Linked DNA regions of Homo sapiens: region 1 is linked to region 2. The links are contacts of gene promoters, found by promoter capture Hi-C in human tissues and cell types (Jung and others, 2019). All regions are on one chromosome and are shown on one strand. Each heading gives the region's core, a stretch centred on a gene start or on the middle of the fragment in contact. The rest is flanking DNA. Distances are from core to core; before and after follow the strand shown.

What was found. Contacts are between HindIII fragments. The study calls those that stand out against the background at their distance.
Region 1: a contact is called between a fragment that was not itself captured here and the fragment with the promoter of GNB1 in region 2, in 1 of the 25 tissues and cell types used here (heart right ventricle).

What each region holds. Positions count from the first base shown.
Region 1 is chr1:2,397,055-2,400,471 of GRCh38, forward strand. RER1 (retention in endoplasmic reticulum sorting receptor 1) reads left to right here. Exons shown (of 7, transcript NM_007033.5): 3 at 62-166; 4 at 2,361-2,460. Among named protein-coding and RNA genes, the nearest start is that of RER1, 6.9 kb to the left of the region's middle. The HindIII fragment of the contact is 8,492 bases long and covers 1-3,417 here.
Region 2 is chr1:1,889,582-1,892,558 of GRCh38, forward strand. It overlaps GNB1 (G protein subunit beta 1), which reads right to left and starts at 1,506. Exons shown (of 12, transcript NM_002074.5): 1 at 1,239-1,506. GNB1-DT (GNB1 divergent transcript) reads left to right here and starts at 1,599. Exons shown (of 2, transcript NR_168264.1): 1 at 1,599-1,802; 2 at 2,319-2,977. RefSeq lists silencers at 821-1,010, 1,571-1,760, 1,881-1,980, 2,041-2,290. The HindIII fragment of the contact is 12,240 bases long and covers 1-2,977 here.

The sequences.
Region 1 (3,417 bases), core at 469-2,968, 510 kb after region 2:
GGCAGGGTCAGTACAGAAGTTACAGGACCTGCTTCATGCTTTTGGACTCTTGTCTTTCTAGATTTATCAGTCCTGGCTAGACAAGTCCACACCCTACACGGCTGTGCGATGGGTCGTGACACTGGGCCTGAGCTTTGTCTACATGATTCGAGTTTACCTGCTGCAGGTAGGTGTGGGCTGAAGTGACGAGACTTGGCTCTGTCCACGTTACCTGGGCGTGATGTTTGTGGGGATGTTGTTGATCCAGTCTGTCTTGCAGGAAGTGGTCTCTAGTAATCAATTTTCAGCTAAACGCCAAATGTCAGAAAGATCTCAGTGACTGTCTTTAACGAACAGGGTTGTTTATGATTCACCCGGAGTCGCCTCGCCAGGCTTCTCAGTATACCCAGGCCGTCCTGAGCCCAGCCTGGCCCTGCCCTGGGCACGTCCAGGCCTGGACAGTGGAGCCGCTGGTGTCCCTCCGACCCTGCTGCATGATGCTCAGGACAAGGTTGCGCTCTGTGGCTGCCTCATTCCTTGGGTGAAGAGTCCATGCCTTGGGTGTCATGAATGACTCGGCGTCCAAAGGGTTTATGTAGCTTTTCCTGAGCTCTCCCTTGTGTGAGGCCAAAGCACAGTGCAGGTTGAGACGCCGAGTCAAGTAAGAGAGACAGTGACCGAAGGGGGTCTTGAGGGTTTCCTTCGTGTGTTTTCGGGCACCCCTAGGTCAGGTGATGTCGTCTCAGACTTCACCTGGGTGCTCCTTTACTTGCTGGTAAACACGGGGTTTCTAGGAGCAAACCTGTAAGATGGGAATTCTTCGTCGGTCTTTAGAGGAGGTTACATAATCTTATGTGCAGAGCAGGGCATGTTGAAAGCCTTGTCTGGGCTATTTTCTCCTCTGGGGACTGTAGAAGATACTTCCTTGTTTAAAGCACACACCTTAATTTATTTATTTATTTTTGTTTTTAAATTGGAACTGGGTCCATTCTCTGATGGAAAGAATGACCTAGAAATCTTGAATCAGGGACTTCAGGCAGGAGCAGGGGGCGGGAAGAGTGCAGCACCCACAGGTCAGTTTTATTGCGTTCGAAACCAAGCTCGTGCCTCATTTGGCGTCTCTTCAGGTGTGGCCCTGCAGCCGAGGATGGACACACAGACATCAGTTAGCCCTCACATCCGGCGTTCAGCCGAGGATGGACACACAGACATCAGTTAGCCCTCACATCCGGCGTTCAGCCAGGGATGGACACACAGACATCAGTTAGCCCTCACATCTGGCGTTCAGCCGTCTGACTGGAAAAGCTTTTAGGCAGAAAGACTTCTTGTTTGTATAAGAAAGTTAAAGCATTTATATTTTTATTTATTGTTTTGAGATGGGGTCTCACTCTGTCGCCCAGGCTGGAGTGCAGTGGCCTGATCTTGGCTCACTGCAACCTCCACCTCCTGGGTTCAAGTGATTCTCTTACTTCAGCTTCCCGAGCAGCTGGGATCACAGGCATGTGCCACCATGCCTGGCTAATTTTTGTATTTTTAGTAGAGACGAGGTTTCACCATGTTGGCCAGGCTGGTCTTGAACTCCTGACCTCAGGTGATCCACCCGCCTTGGCCTCCCAAAGTGCTGGGATTGCAGGCGTGAGCCACCACACCCGACAGAAATTTAAGGCTTTTGAAATTGAGAATGCGGTTCTGGCTTTTAACGGGATATGCTTAATCATTTTAAAAAATGAATTAGTTGCAAATAAGTGTGCTGCACTCAGGCATCTTGCCAAAATTCTCCCCACTTTTCATCTCTTGAGGAAGGCTTGGCATAAGCACACTTTTCTGGATTTCCCAGTTGTGGATTTCTTCTGGGCAAAGGTTTAACCCTCCTGGCAGAGTGTTTTTGGCAATGTGAATTGTCTGTTGGAGGAACATCAGCCAGCACGCCTCCAGTCACAGTTGAGAGTCTGTCTTCTGTTTCTGATGAAGCTGCTCCTGGGTGGGGCTCTGGGCCAGCATCGCTCAGGTGCCCGGGCCACCCGAGCCTGTGGTGTAGCTTGAGCATGTGCTTCTTGAGAAAAGCCTCCTTTTCTGCTGCGCTCCTTGTGGGGCGTCTGTGGCTTCAGGGATCACATGTGTCTAACTGGACCCTTGAAGAGCTTTGCTCATTTGGGCCCTTGCTTGTCCGCTTTGTCTCTGTTCCCACAGAGTATAATTTGAGATAAATTGTTACCATGGGATTTCACTGTATTTCCTTGTCCTTGCTATGAGTAAGTTTTGTGTTAAAACAAAGTTAGATCAGTTAACAAAGTTGAGAGTGAACCGGAGTGCAAACGTGAACTGGCTCAGGCTGATGGACGGTCAGAGTGCACCACTGACTCTCTTTCCTTCTCTTTCAGGGTTGGTACATTGTGACCTATGCCTTGGGGATCTACCATCTAAATCTTTTCATAGCTTTTCTTTCTCCCAAAGTGGATCCTTCCTTAATGGAAGACTCAGGTAGGGTAGCGGCTGTGCACTGGGCTGTGTGGGCAGGTTGGGCCTTTCTTTTCTGATGGGATTGCCCAGTGTTCTCTGGAAACACCCGAGACTCTTCTCTTGGGGTTGAAATGTACTTGTAATGTTGGGTGATCAGGATATGTTTGTAGAATGACTCTTCAAACCCTCCTGACAGCCACGAAGTGGGTGTTCATTCTGTTTTCCCACTTTGCAGATGAGGAAACTGAGGCATACAGGGTTAGGTAACGTGTTCGAGGTCACATGGCACCACAGACAGTAGGGGTCTGAGGTGGACAGTCCGACTCCAGCCCCCGTCCCACCCCAGTCAGTGGTCCCTCTCAGAATCAGCGGAGGCAGCCATGACGAGGTTACCTTTTCCCGTAGCCAGAGGGTTCCACAGGCAGCTCACTGTGGTGCACAGAGACCGCCGGGACTCTAATGCCAGCATCGGGTCGGGTCAGGCTTTGGGCGGCCTTCTCTGGTTTCTGAGGAGCTGTGAGCTGAAGTGTTCCTGGTGCTTCGTGCTCCACTATTGGAAGACTTACGCAGCTCCTGGGCCTGCCTGGGCCAGGTAGGGGCCCTGAGTTCATGCCTGACTGGCCAGCCCCAGGCGAGGAACAAACAACTGCATTCCAGGACGTGGTGGCCATTGAGGGAAAACCCACACGCAGCTCCCTGCCAGGACCCTCCTCGTTCTGGGGGAACCTGCTGTCAGGGAGTAGGGTATGCTCTCACTGTGTGGCCAGAAGCCTGTGAGTCTTCTGTGTAGGATATGTGATGAAAAGATTGCTGGGAACACAGCCCCTCTCTGTTGTTGCTGTTTGGAGGAGACTAGAAAATAACAAAGAGCCCCTTTCCTGTAGGCCTCAGTTTTCCCATCTGTAAATGGGGAGCGGCACCCATCCCAGTGGGGGAGGCGGGGTGAGAGTGGGCTTGGCACAGCTGCTGGTGGGACAG
Region 2 (2,977 bases), core at 256-2,755:
CGGGAGGATCGCTTGAGCCCCAGAGTTCGAGACCAGCCTGGTTAACAGGATCTCTTTTACAAAGAGATCCCATCTCTTAAAAAAAAAAAAAAAAAAGGCTTCCATGAAGATGAATTAAGCAAACAAAAGCTGATACTGCTTCTGCATGCTAACCATGTAATTTAACGGACACAAGAAATGTTAAAATATCATTTGAATCAACTATCGATTCACAAGAAAAAATATAGCAGGTTCTTAAAAGTCAAAAGCCTCAGCCGACAGCCCTGTGGAATTTTCAACAGATCTCCCCACTCCCCACCCCCACCCCGCTTCCAGCCGAAAAGCCGATCCAGGCAAGAGGAAGACACCCAGCCTTTGTGCTATTTCCTGTCCTCTCCCCCACCTTCGGGCCTTCGGAATATCGCAAACCGGGCCCCGAAACTCGGCGCGGCGGCGGCCGCCCCACAAAGGCAGCGGTGGGAGCGCCATCTTGGCGCGGCCACCGGGCCCATTCATTCGCGGGGCCGGGCCGGGGTCCGCGCAACCCTCGAGTCGACACGCGCGGGGCGCCAGCGCCGGACAGACCCGGGCCTCGGCAGGAGAAGGGCGAGGCCACAGCGCGACTGCCTCAGCGGCTCGACACAGCGAAAAGGGCCGAAACCGTTATTTTCCCATTTCCCGACGCCGCGCCCGGCTTCCGCTTTAAATCCCTACTCCGACCGCGGCGCGCGGCCCGGCTTCCCCATTTCATTGTTCCCCTTCCCCACGCTCGCGCCCCGCGGCCGCCCGGCCCTCAAAGTCACCCCGATAGGCGGCCCGCGCGGGGGCTCCGGCCGCCGACACCGCCCCGCCTGCAGGCCCGCCCGGCCTTTGTTCTCGCGCCGCGGGCCCGAGAGCCACGTCCGGCTCCCCACGCAGGGCCCGGCCCCGCCCGACCCGCGCCCCCGGGGCCCCGGCCGCCGCCACGGGAAGCGCCCGCGGCGCACACAACCCCGCACCCCGGTGCCGAAACTCGGCCCCCAGCCTTGGGCCTGGGACCCCGGCTCCTCTCCCTAGACCCCGCCCTCGACCCCGACCCTGCACCCCGAACCTCGGACCCCAGCCCCCGGCCCCCCCTTCGGACGCCGCCCGCCGCACCCGGGCGGGGCAGGAAGACGCGGCCCCGACCGGCGGGTGGGGTGGGGGCGGGGCGGGCGCCCCCAGGGCGGGCGGGTGGACGAACAGGACCCGGGTCCGGGGCTGGGGGCTGCCGCGCTCACCTCAGCGCCCTCGTCGCGGCCTGACGCGCCCACACCGCCGCCTCGGCCGCCGCTCGGCAGGTCGTCGCGCTCGGGCCGCGCTGCGCGCTCCGCGGGCGCTGCGGGCAGGTGCGCGCCGGCGAGGCTCGGTCCAGTCCCGCCGCGGCGGCTGCTCCACTCCCGGCCCCGCTCCCCACTCGCCGCCCGCTCCCGCTCCCGCCGCCGCCGCCGCCGCCTCCGTCCGCCCCTCAGACGCCTCCAGCCATCGGGATGGGCGCGGCGGGCCCCTGCCCGCAGCCTCGGAAAACCCCACGCGCTCGCGTCACCACGCACGCCGCGCGTCGCGCGCGCTCGCCAGGCCCGACGGGCACGCGCACGCCTGTGCGCGTCCAAACCGCATCGGGCCCCGAGCGCGTGTCCGAGCGGCTTAAAGGGGCCGTGCTGCTGCCTTCGGGTACCGCTGCCCCGGGAGACCCCCGGCGGCCCGGCCCTGCGGGGACCGGGCGGGATGGGGACCGGGGCAGTGGACCCTCGGAGTTGGGATGGGGCGGGGGGAACGCGGGCGTGGAGCCCTCCGGGGACAGGGTAAGGTTGGGTAACCGTGGGCGGGGGCTCCTCCAGGGGCGGGGGTGGGGTAACGGCGGGCGGGGGGCACTCAAGCGACAGGGCAGGGGCGGGAAGGCCGCGGGCGGGGGCGGTCCCTCCGGGGACGGGGCGGGTGGGGGCACCGCGGGCGAGATCGCTTCCTGCAGAGGAGGCAACAGGCCCCGCTAGCAGGTCAGGGTCCCGGGCAGGCGCAGGTGCCCCCCGGCCTCTCAAGCAGGGACTGCGGCGAGCTCAGACGCGGCTGACGGGCAGAGACTCGCGCTTGGGCTCAGTGCGTGTGAAGTGGGCCTCGGGCTGCGGAGGAGGGCAGCACCCCGTGGCTCCTCGCGCTGCTGCGAGCAGGGCCGCCTGGCAGGGGCGGGGGCCGGTGGGCGGGAGTGTCGGGGTAAGGCCGCGGACTCCTCCCATGCCGCTGAGCAGTGGACAGCGGGGACTGGAGACCTCCAGGTGAGGAAGGGGAACGAAGTCAAGAAGGCCACATGTCCTGGCTTCCAGGCTTGGTGTCCTCAGAAGCCTCCAGAACGTCCATGGAACCCGCCCCTGCGCCCACCGCCTCCTGCTGTCTTTCCAGCTGAGTTCCGGCTGCCCCTCACCCTCGGCTTCTTCACTCTGCCTCTCCCCAGCCAGCGCCCTGCTCCCCGGTCCTCAACCACCACCTTCCACCTGCCTGGGCCTTCATCGCCTCCGAGCTCCCCTTCCACACCAAACCTGGCGTCCGTTTTCCTCCAGGCCTGCACCAGCACAGCTGAAGGGGAGAGAGACCCAACCTCATCCACTGGGCCTCCCCTCAACCAGGGCCACAACCTCAAGGGGCCATGCCACCTCCAACACCTATTTCCCACCTTCTACTCTCTCCACACCCTGGGACACCACCCGCCTCTCTCAGCTGACGTTTTCCTTCTTGTTTTGTGTGCATGGTGCTTGTGTGAGAAAGTGGACACACAGTAAGTGCGGCTTCCAGATGCGTCCGCCACCTGCCCTCCGTGCCACGCGCTTCCCCCTACCTAGGGGAGCCTCCACCAGACAGGGAACCCACGCCTTGCCACCCTTCTCTCTCCCTCCCACTTCACCTGTCCGCATCATTTCTGGAGCCCTTTCTTTCTGGCACGAGATGCTCCAGGGCCCTGTTGTATTCTCCCTGCCCCAGCCTGAAC